Linked DNA regions of Homo sapiens: regions 1 and 2 are each linked to region 3. Evidence: promoter capture Hi-C in human tissues and cell types (Jung and others, 2019). All regions are on one chromosome and are shown on one strand. Each heading gives the region's core, a stretch centred on a gene start or on the middle of the fragment in contact. The rest is flanking DNA. Distances are from core to core; before and after follow the strand shown.

Region 1 (3,656 bases), core at 406-2,905, 39 kb after region 3:
TAAAACTAGAGATACGATCTCACAATCCTGCCGACTTCAGAATCTATCCCCACTGCAGATCTAAGTGACGTGCGTGGTGTTAATTGCCTCCCACCCCTTCTACTGGGAGTCCTCTGCCTGAGTTAGTCCTAACCTTATCTACTGGAAATATTCTTTGATATTCAGTTCACTTTTCTTTAACTTAATTGTATCTCTTAATCATAGCTATGCATTCTTGGATAAATCAACAGTAATTGTAATTAAAAAAAAGTATTCAGAATCAATAACTTACATCCAAACTAACCATGTATCAGTACTGTTTCATTTGTCACTTTTTAGCTAAATTAAATATCCTGAAGCAACTGATCTTTCCTCCTTTTTTTTCTTTTTGAGGGAGAGTCTTGCTCTGTTGCCCAGGTTAGAGTGCAGTGGTACGATCTCAGCTCACTGCAACTTCCGCCTCCGCCTCCTGGGTTCAAGGGATTTTCCTGCCCCAGCCTCCTGAGTAGCTGGGACTACACGCATGTGTCACCAAGCCTGGCTAATTTTTGCATTTTTAGGAGATGGGGTTTCCCTATGTTGGCCAGGCTGGTCTTGAACTCCTGACCTCAGGTGATCTGCCTGCCTCGGCCTCCCAAAGTGCCTGGATTACAGGTGTGAACCATCACTCGTGGCCACAACTGATCTTTCTACTGTTCCTCCACTACCCAAGCAAACAAATTTCTGTTGAAGGTCCATGATGTGTCAGAAATTAGAGCCATAAAGAAACAAAAGACAAGATCTCTGACTCACACGACTTCATAGAATATGCCCCTCCCCAAAACAACTGAGGAGCACACTCGGTTGAATAATGAAATAACAACAAGAAACGAACCTCTTCAGGTTGAATGCTTGATTGTCTAGGGCACACAGAAACACACTTCAAAAATACTGAAAAGCAAAGATTCTTAGCCATAATGAAAGCGATTGTGATTTATTGAAACTGAAATCGGCTATCTCTAAAAAGAGCAAAGCCCTCTCTATCCTCGATTTGCTTTCATTTGTAGCACAAATTAAGTGTTCACCAATGTCTATCAGTGATACCAAGAACTCCAATTCCAGTACTTTCCTTTAAAAGTACATTTCCTTTTAAAAAATTTGTTTAAATTAAAAATTAAATGGCCAGGTGCAGTGGCTCATGCCTATAATCCCAGCACTTTTGGGAGGCTGAGGTGGGAAGATCACATAAGGCCAGGAGTTTGAGACCAGCCTGGCCAACATGGTGAAAACCCGTCTCTACTAAAAATACAAAAATTTGCCAAGTGTGGTGGAGCGTGCCTGTAATCCTAGCTACTTGGGAGGCTGAGGCAGAAGAATTGCTTGAACCCAGGAGGCGGAGGTTGCAGTGAGCCGAGATCGCGCCACTGCACTCCAGCCTGGGAAACAGAGCGAGATTATGTCTCAAAAAAAAAAATTTTAAGTACATTTCCTAAATGAAGGGTTTATAAAGGAACAAGAGCTACTGAAAATAGTGAGGACAAACTCCTGCATGGCCAAGAGCAAAATCAGGACTCGAGTCCCAGACTCTGGGAACTGAAGAAAAGGAGCATCACGTGTTTCCAAGCTCTCAAACTGTTCCTTCAAATAGTGTTCTGAAGTCATCATTTCCCCCATATCCCTTGAAAGCCTTCTTTGACTTCCATTTTTGTCATCTGTAAATTAAAATAACGAAGCACATTTCATAGACTGTCGTAAAAATAAATTAGATACCACAGGTAAAAATACCTGTAGATGCATTTGGCACGCAGACCATATTCAACAAATAGTAGCTTTGTTTTGCGAATTCTAGGAACTATTCACGTATATCCTAGATTATTTCTTTTCAGAGAAAGTGGCTGATGAGAGGGGAGATGATTTGGGGGAACAAAGGGGAAAATTTGTGAAGGGTATAGTACACACGTAAGACAAGGTGAAAACAACATCAGAGGTCAGAGGGTGACAGAATTGTAGGCCAATTTATAGCAAGCCACTGCAATTATCTGGAACTCAGGTGTTTGCGATATATTGGCTTATAAGGCATAAATGATGGATTTAGACTTTTGGACAGAACTTAGGACTTGTGGCTAACATGGCCATTGATTTTGTTTGATAGTGCCTTTCTGGAAGCCAAACTTCTATCAGCTAGGCAATTCAAATGGTGGCTAAGAGAAAAGCAGGCAGTGTCTCTTCAGAGAATCACCACACAGCTGCCAGGCACTATACAGGGCAATATTTTCCAATGATGATGGATAGGAATTTACTGTTCAGTGTCTTATTCCTTGCTACTGAGAGCAAGGAGTGTGTAGTTCATGCCTTCCGTTGATGAAATCACAGTACCATTAATAATAGATGCAAGCTTCCATATGGGTTAATTTGCCGTTTCTTTCCTTCTGGCTGACCATCTTACAGACGTGTTCCAGAGAGTCACAGAGGGGCAGAAACTGAGCTAAATTGATAAAATGCTACCACTTTTGCTAGAAAAGTACCAAACTGCATATTCAATTGATGCATATTTGAAAGAGCAATGTTGGTACGTTTCAAGCTCACAAGCTGTGAGTCTTTCTGAAAAAAAAATCACTTAAGAAATGTCATCCCTTCTGGGAGATTCCTCTAATGCTCTCAGGCAGAACTGGCTGGCACTTCCTATGATCACACACAATGTAACCTCCACTCAAAGGATAAGAAACGATTAAAGAACAAACTGTAGCCAACATTGCTCTAAGCTGGAATGTCTTTGAGTGGGGTGGAGTGTGTATCTAGAATACACGCTTCCTGTGCAGGGAGGGAGCCCTTTTCCCTCTGCATTCAGCTTGGAGGTTGCTCTCTTCTCAACATACAGGCAAGAGGTTATTCATGGCCTTCCCCCATAGAGAAGAGAGTTCACAGAACAAGGAAGAAGGTAAGGAACGATGAGAGCAGCTATACCCAATGGTGCAAACAGGACTGGTTACCAACAAACAAAGCAGGCTTCTGGCATTTTCCAGAGTATGCCTGAGAGGCTTAAGCATCACTCACATACACCGGCACAGAAGCTAGTGAGAAAGTGGGTAGCCAGAGCTACAAACACATGGGTCAAAAGTTCTGTTGCACTTCAAATGTGAAATTTGAACAATCTGAGGACTGAGGATAGACTGCAATTACTATTACAGCCTAGCCAAGGGGAACAACATTTCTAATTCTGATGCATCTAGAACTGAAAAAGCACAGAGGGTTTAAAGACAAAAAATAAAAGGGATAAGAGAAGAGAATCAGAGGACAGTCCTCCAGCACAGCTGAAAGCCAGAAACGATAAATAGGATTTGTCTTATTTAAAATACGCATGTTTAAAATATGTGTATTCTAAAACCATATGCATAAATCAACTTCTACAAAATACTTAGACAATTCACCTAATTGTTGAAGATTTGGTGTGCAGGACGGTAGTTTGGGGGCAATTTTAGTTTAGTTTCACTGAGAGTTCCTCACAGCTATTTCACCCTGGCCATTATACTTAAGATGATTCCGTCTATGTAGATTGAATATATTTTTCAGTGGCATTTTGAATTGCAGAGGGTAGGACTTTCCAGGACTCTATTTTACCTGTGAATGAGGAGAGCTTCTCTTAACTGAAATACACTGTCCTTATTTCATAAACATAGGCTCTTCTCCCACCCCGGACT
Region 2 (3,794 bases), core at 511-3,010, 48 kb before region 3:
TTACATTGTAATACCATTGAATAAATGTAGCAAAAGATTCTTAACCAATCTCCAATTATGGCTTGTTGGATTCTTTGTTTTTGCTCTGACAATCGCTTTTGCCGAGAATGTTTCTGTACACATGTATTTCAATACTTGAGCAAGTTTTACTGTAAGACAGATTTGAGAAGTGGAAATACTGAATCAAAAATGTACAATCTAAATTTTGTAATTAATAGGAATTAATGTGGAATGATTATCTTAAAACTCTGGTCTTCATCTCCAATTGCCTAGTGGTTTTTTTGTTTTTTTGTTTTTTTTTTTGGAGACAGAGTCTCGCTGTGTCACCCAGGCTGGAGTGCAGTGGTGCGATCTCGCTTCACTAAAACCACCGCCTCCTGGGTTCAAGCGATTCTCCTGCCTCAGCCTCCTGAGCAGCTGGGATTACAGGTGCCTAGTGGTCTGTAATCTACTGTGTAAATGTGTAAATCTACACATTTAATAGATACAGATACTATCTATCTGCCCTCCAAATATTTTCTGATTAGCTCTTAAAAATGAATTTATTTGGATCAAACTTGTTGAAAATTAGTAGAGTTTTAGTAAAGGATTCACATGTGTAACTACTATTCTTATTTTAATTTGCTTGCAGTATAAGGTCAAAATTATATACCAAGTTGACTTTTTAAAAAAATGGTGAGTACATAGGTGTATATATTTATGGGGTACATGAGATCTTTTGATCCAGGCATGCAATGTTTAATAATCACACCATGGAAGATGGGGTTCCCATCCCCACAAACATTTATCCTTTGTGTTATAAATAATCCAATTACACTCTTAGTTATTTTTAAATGCACAATTAAATTATTTTGACTATAGTCTCCCTGCTGTGCTATCAAATACTAGGTATTATTAATTACTTCAGGGTTTATTTGTAGCTGTTAACCATCCCCACTTCTCCCTACCCCATGCTACCCTTCCCAGCCTCTGGTAACTATCTTTCTACTCTCTACCAGATTGACTTTTAGTTTTGGGTTGAGTCTATCCTTATTCTCTGTGCAAAATCTCTCTTCCATTGAACAGAGTTGGACTGTCTTTGATGTCTGCATAAGTAGGCACCAAGGTTTGCAATAAGAAAAGTAGTATACCTTGGTGACTGTGAAGTCAGACAGATTACATTTGACTCCTACCTCTTTTAATCATTAGCTGTGTGTCCTTGGGGAAATGACGTGACCTCTCTTAGTTTCAGTTTTCTTTTCTGCAAAAATGGAAATGACAACAATAATTGCTACCTTGTAGGGAGGTTTGGAGAATTAAAACTCGTTCTACAGTGCCTAGCATGCAATAGACGCTTGTTGGGTGGTTTCCTTCTAAGGGTGCAACGGGTATGGCTCAAGCAAGAATGAAACCTATTACTGAAGATGATCCAAAATGAGATGCCAGAAGGTAGATGTCAGACCAAAAAATCCCACTGTCCACATCAGTCAGGCAATTGGCATTGGTAACTCTAGAAGACTTTTAAATCATCCTTATCATTTAGTTTCCCTAATAATGACAAATAAAAACAAAGTGGAAAGTGAGATGCCTAGATTCCCCTGCAACTAGATTTACCTTAAGAGCAAAGGAGGCCAGGCATGGTGGATCACGCCTGTAATCCCAGCACTTTGGGAGGCCGAGCTGGGTGGATCACAAGGTCAGGAGTTCAAGACCAGCCTGGCCAACATGGTGAAACCCCGTCTCTACTCAAAATATAAAAATTAGCCGGGCATGGTGGCAGGTGCCTGTAATCCCAGCTACTCAGGAGGCTGAGTCAGAGAATTGCTGGGAGGCAGAGGTTTCAGTGAGCTGAGATTGCACCACTGCTCCACAACCTGGGCCGTAGAGTGAGACTCCATCTCAAAAACAAAACAAAACAAAAAACAAGAAATAAACAACCAAAGGAGACCTTTCCACAGGTGTTAGTTGACAGAATTATAAGCCTTGCACATCTAGGATGAACCAGACAAGGAATATTTTGCAAAGATTAAGGCAGCAAGGAAATGTTGTCATTCTTGCGTAAGCAAAGTCTACGTTATTCTGCTATAATCAGAGCATTTTGCATTTGTGCAACAATTCTTGCTCTTATGGGTACATCAGAGCTCAAGTGTGCCATGAAAAGGTAATGGCAATAAATTCCACAAAAGAATGAGTGACAGTAATTGGAAGGAATTTGAGCAGAAGGGATATGAAAAAGTAGCTTTTGATTATTCTCTTCTTTTTTATAATATAAATGATCATTGGTAACACATTTAATTTGACAGTAGTCCAAGGCCTTCAAAAATATTCCTACGAACCAGTTATAAACTGTGATAATCAATTTCTTGGCAATTACACTGATTAAGGAAATTATTCATCTACTACATTCTTCATCTCAGATATTTTTCAAATGTCACTTGAGCCTCTTAAGCTTAAAAAAACCTTGCTATTAGCCAGTACACACAATAAATGTAAAACCGATGGCACCAATATTATGAATAGTACCTCTTAGGACAAAATCTGATTTGTTTGAAGGCAGATGACATTATAAAGGATAGTCAAGATGTCACTAGAGGGACTTTGTATGCAGCTTGATTTACTTAGCATCTTTGTCACTTTATAGATTGAGATATGATTGATAGTAACATTAATATAGAAAGTATGTTAATATTAGAACAGACTTTAAGATCCCCTACTAGAAAATTCTCCACCTCCTCAAATTGATATAATTTGGAATAAAATGCCCTAAGGATGCAATGATTCTTAGTCTTGCTACCCCTTGATGTAAGCTTTTATTTTTTTTAGAAAATTAAATCAGTTTTATTGAGGTACACTTTATATACAATAAAATAATACACCCAATTTAAGTATACATTTCCGTAAGTTTTGACAAATGTGCACACCTGTGTAACCATTACCACAATCAAGGTACATTTTATCACCCCAAAAGTTCCTTTTTGGTCCTTCCCAGGCAACACCCTCTACCCCTCAGCCCTAGGCAAATGCTAACGTATTTTATATCACTATGAATTGGATTAGATTTCTCTTTTCTGGAGTTTTATATCAATCAATCTTAAAGAGTGTAGAATTTTGTGTCTGCTTCCTTTACTCAGCACAATGCTTCTGAGATTCACCCACGTTTCCTGTATCAGCCGTTCATTTTCTTTTTTCGGCTTGTGAGAACATAGTGTAACATGTGTAGACATTCAATTGATGACAGCCATTTTTGTTTCCAGTTTGGGGCCATTATCAGTGAAGCTGCTTTATCTATTCATAAATAAACCTTTGTTGTGGACATATTTATTTCTCTTGGGTAAGCATCTAGGAAGAGTATTGTAGGGCGGCAGTCCCCAATCTTTTTTGTACCAGGGATTCATTTTGTGGAAGACACTTTTTCCACAGACTGTGGGTGGCGTGGGATGTTTCTGGGATGAAACTGTTCTACCTCAGATCATCAGGCGTTAGAGTCTCATACAGAGCATACAACCTAGATCCTGGGCATGCACAGTTCACAATAGGGTTCCACTCCAAAGTGGGTGGATCATCTGAGGTCAGGAGTTCAAGGCCAGTCTGACCAACATGGTGAAACCCCATCTCTGCTAAAAATACAAAAAAGTTAGCCAGGTGCGGTGGCATGCACCTGTAATCCCAGCTACTCGGGAGGCTGAGGCAGGAGAATCGCTTGAACCTGGGAGGCAGAGGTTGCAGTGAGCCAAGATCACATCACTGCACTCCAGCCTGGGCGACGAGAGCAAAAAACTCCCATCTCAAAAAAAAAAAAAAAGAAAGAAAGAAAG
Region 3 (3,880 bases), core at 1,003-3,502:
GGCCAGTCTCGGGCTGGGATGGGATATATCCATATTGTGTAGAGGGGAGTACAGCAGCAAGCTCATTGAATGGCATTGATCCTCCTGGAAGCTCTCTGTTTCGGTCTCATCATCTGCATGAACAGAGAGTCCATTTCAACTCTTAATATTTTATAAGCATTGATGAGCATTTTATGAGCATTTGACTCCAATATATCTTAAGCGTTAGTCAATGGGAAAACTCCACATAGCTTGAGGTTTTGATGAGAACTTCTCTATACATCTCTACCTTTTAAAAACTCCTTTTGTGTCACCTACAGAACTCTTCATAGCAATAGAGAGGCCTTATGAAATTTGATAATCTGGTGCATCAGAGTTTTATTAATATCCTACCCCCCCAGTGCTGGCAGCAAACCTCACCATTTTGTCCTCCAAAAGGAAGGTGACTTTTAAGAAGCAATCCAGAAGGTGTGTTAGGAAAGTAAGTATTATGGCCAGGAGACAACTTATTATGTGTTTGCTCCTTAAAAATATGAAAATAAGGCAGCTCATGTGAACAAAAATATTATGGAACTATGTGTATAATTATGCCCAAGCAATAGGCGCGCATTTATAAAACCACTACCCTAAAATAAAAGTTAAGGGCTTGAGAAGTGGGAAGCCCTATTTTCCAATACCAGGAGCAGTGTGGCTCTCTCAGTAGCCAGGAGGTGGAGACCCCCACCCCGCTGAGCCACACAGCACAGCTTTTAGGGTTGATTCTCCCAGCCAAGGCCTGAAGGAGCTACTGACATTTCTCTTAAAAGAATCATTCAGTCTTTGTTTCCTTCTGTCTGCTCGTTTGACCTTATTTTGTTTTGAAACAGAGAAGAAAGAAAGAAAGAAAGAACTAAATTGGTGGGGTGGACTGGAGTAGGCTGGGGGGCGGGGAGATTGAGGCACAGGGAGGAAAGGAGAAGTCCATGCTGTGACACCCGCAGACAAGATCACAGGCTGCTGATCGTCACCCAGGATGTTACTGTTTGCTTGCTGTAGTCTTATTTGTTCCTGCTTTTCTCATTTCAGATTCTCACCCTGATGTAATAAGTCACCGTCTTCCCAGCCATCATCCTCGTATTGACAAGCAAATGTCACCCACGTTTGATTGACATCTGTTGCTCCTGAATGCAAAAGTATGATTTAGGATTCAATTCTACTTATTTATTTAAAGCCATTCTTGTGTGTCTTATGTATTTGTTGGTGGGGTAACTTGCCTGATATCTACCCTGGAGGCCTTCCAGTAATATGATAAACCATGCTGTTCCTTCTGCAGCTCACCCACTGAGAATGGGGGCTCTTCTTTCTTGTATTTCTCCTACTTCTCCCCTCCCTCAATGTATATTCGGGAAATCTGCTATGGAGCTTATAGAACTCTTTCCATATGCTAGGAAAAGACCTTGCCCAGCACTTGTGCAAAAGCTTCTTGCTTGATCTTTTGACGCCATTTTGACAAGTGGTTATTTCTTGTACATTTAGCGACTTTAAGTAAACGCAACTTCAGGGCCATTGGCGGTATCCCCCGAAAGACTGCTAGAACTGTAAGACTGTAAGCACAGTACGTATGTATGCACTCACCACGGTGCAGCATTTGTAAAAAGGACCAACCCCCTCCTCCCCCAGAGGCGGTGGACATGTTCATTTAAAATCATTCACAAATGTTCTTTGGCTTTTCAACATACCTCACTGTTCTTGGGGCAACATCTTATTCATTTACAAGGCAGAGGAGGAAAACCATCAGGTTAAAAGAAAATCACATCTACCATCTGGAAAATTCTAAAAGGCCCTCCTTCTGTTAACAGTGGCATTTTGAAAACACCTGAAGCACTGATTGTAGAGGAGCTAGCAAAGAAACTGTCAACTCAGCCACCCTCCTTTCAACCTTCACCTCCACCCTCCAACTGGGGCTGCTGGCAGTGGGGAAATCGGGGATTTAGGTGTGACCCTTGAGCTCTGAAAGCTGTCGCACAGCTGTCTCCCTTCCCCAGGTGGGTCCAGCAGGACCTGCCATCGCTTGGTTCAGCAAGGGAGTATTCAGAATCTCACTGTTCATCCATGTGCAGAGAGAGAAAAAAAGAGAGGCCGAAAAAAAAAAAAAAATCCCACATTGTCAGAGTAATGCCAAACTCTCTCTGAGTGGGATGAGCAGAGCAGATGCTGCAATGAGATGCCAAAGCGGCTCCCCTTCCTCTGTGCCTTGGGTGCCTATAAATTGCTCCGGCGCGCGTTTGTCAGCCTCCTCTTCTCCTGGCAGGTGGTACCCAGGCAGAATTCTGCCTTCAGTCTCTCTCTCGCTCCGCTCCCGGCCGTGAGGCGCTCGCCGCTGCTCGCTCGCTCCTCCGCCCCAGCTCTGAGCCTCGCCGTGCCGACCGTGCCCGCCGCCGCCGCCGCTGGGCGCACCCGGGGGACGCCCGGGCCCACGCGGGGCTTTGGGGTGCGCGTCTATTCGAGTTGTGGTGGTGGCAAAGGAGGAAGAGAGAAAGGAGGCAATAAAAAAAAAAGGCAGCGGACGGGCGAACTGAGCGAGCGAAAGAAGAGGAGGAGGAGGCAGAAAAAGGCAACTTCAGACGGAAAGTTGGTGCGAACAGGCGCAGTCTGCAAAAACGGAAAAGTCGATCGCAGGCGGCGGCGGCATAAAAGTGTGAGCTGCCCGGGCGAGCTCAGGAGGCGGCGGCTGGCTCTGCCCTCCCGGTGGCCGCGCCGGCGCCGGCTGCAGCCACAGGTGCGAAGGAGCTCGCGGGGGGCGAGGGCGCCCCGCGCACCCCTCCCCCGGCCCCCACCCCGGGCTCGGGACTTCGGCTCAAGTCACTGGGCGCCCGCGCTCCCTCCCCAGCCGCAGCCTCCGCGGGGGGAGCAGGAGTCGGCAGCAGCGGCCGGCGCACGCACGCCCAGGGGAGTTGGGGTTCGCAGGGGGTTGTTTTCGGCTCTGAAGAGGTCCCCGCCCAACCTTCAAAATTCTGTCCAAAAGCAGACAAGAGGATCGCCCCGCGCTGAGCCGGCTGGTGGGCAGCAGGAGGCGCCTGATCGCCGCCGGGGCGCTGGGGGTGGTGATGGTGCTGCTGCTGGTGATCCTCATCCCGGTGCTGGTGAGCTCGGCCGGCACGTCGGCGCACTACGAGATGCTGGGCACCTGCCGCATGGTCTGCGACCCCTACGGGGGCACCAAGGCGCCCAGCACCGCTGCCACGCCCGACCGCGGCCTCATGCAGTCCCTGCCCACCTTCATCCAGGGCCCCAAAGGCGAGGCCGGCAGGCCCGGGAAGGCGGGTCCGCGCGGGCCCCCCGGAGAGCCCGGGCCACCCGGCCCCATGGGGCCCCCGGGCGAGAAGGGCGAGCCGGGCCGCCAAGGCCTGCCGGGCCCGCCCGGGGCGCCCGGCCTGAACGCGGCCGGGGCCATCAGCGCCGCCACCTACAGCACGGTGCCCAAGATCGCCTTCTACGCCGGCCTCAAGCGGCAGCATGAAGGCTACGAGGTGCTCAAGTTCGACGACGTGGTCACCAACCTCGGAAACCACTACGACCCCACCACCGGCAAGTTCACCTGCTCCATCCCGGGCATCTACTTCTTCACCTACCACGTCCTGATGCGCGGAGGGGACGGCACCAGCATGTGGGCTGATCTCTGCAAAAACAACCAGGTGAGCGCGGGCGGGCGGCGGGGAGGGCGGGGAGGGAGCGCGGGAAGGTGCGGGCGAGAGGGAGGAGACCCCGGAAATGGGGGTGGGAGCCCGCGGAGGAAGGGCGCGGCGGCCGGGCTCCCTGGAGCGACGGCAAGGGGGGACGCCGTCCCACCCTGGAGAGGCGGGGGTCGTGCGCGCAGGAGGGCGCCCCGCGGCCTGGAGAGGGCAGTTCCGGAGTCTGGGAC

The links. The method cuts DNA at HindIII sites, captures the fragments that hold promoters and counts their contacts. A contact is called where the count stands out against the background at its distance.
Region 1: a fragment that was not itself captured here is called in contact with the fragment with the promoter of C1QL3 in region 3 in 2 of the 25 tissues and cell types used here (ovary and thymus).
Region 2: a fragment that was not itself captured here is called in contact with the fragment with the promoter of C1QL3 in region 3 in 4 of the 25 tissues and cell types used here (dorsolateral prefrontal cortex, mesendoderm cells, ovary and 1 more).

Annotation. Positions count from the first base shown.
Region 1 is chr10:16,480,565-16,484,220 of GRCh38, reverse strand. The region is part of intron 1 of PTER (phosphotriesterase related); the gene reads right to left. Among named protein-coding and RNA genes, the nearest start is that of C1QL3, 39 kb to the left of the region's middle. The HindIII fragment of the contact is 6,546 bases long and covers 1-3,656 here.
Region 2 is chr10:16,568,337-16,572,130 of GRCh38, reverse strand. No RefSeq gene overlaps it. Among named protein-coding and RNA genes, the nearest start is that of C1QL3, 48 kb to the right of the region's middle. RefSeq lists an enhancer at 1,100-1,329. The HindIII fragment of the contact is 6,458 bases long and covers 1-3,794 here.
Region 3 is chr10:16,520,251-16,524,130 of GRCh38, reverse strand. C1QL3 (complement C1q like 3) reads left to right here and starts at 2,252. Exons shown (of 2, transcript NM_001010908.2): 1 at 2,252-3,653. The coding sequence starts at 3,066. RefSeq lists silencers at 2,312-2,541, 2,812-3,031, 3,342-3,401 and an enhancer at 3,701-3,880. The HindIII fragment of the contact is 8,174 bases long and covers 1-3,880 here.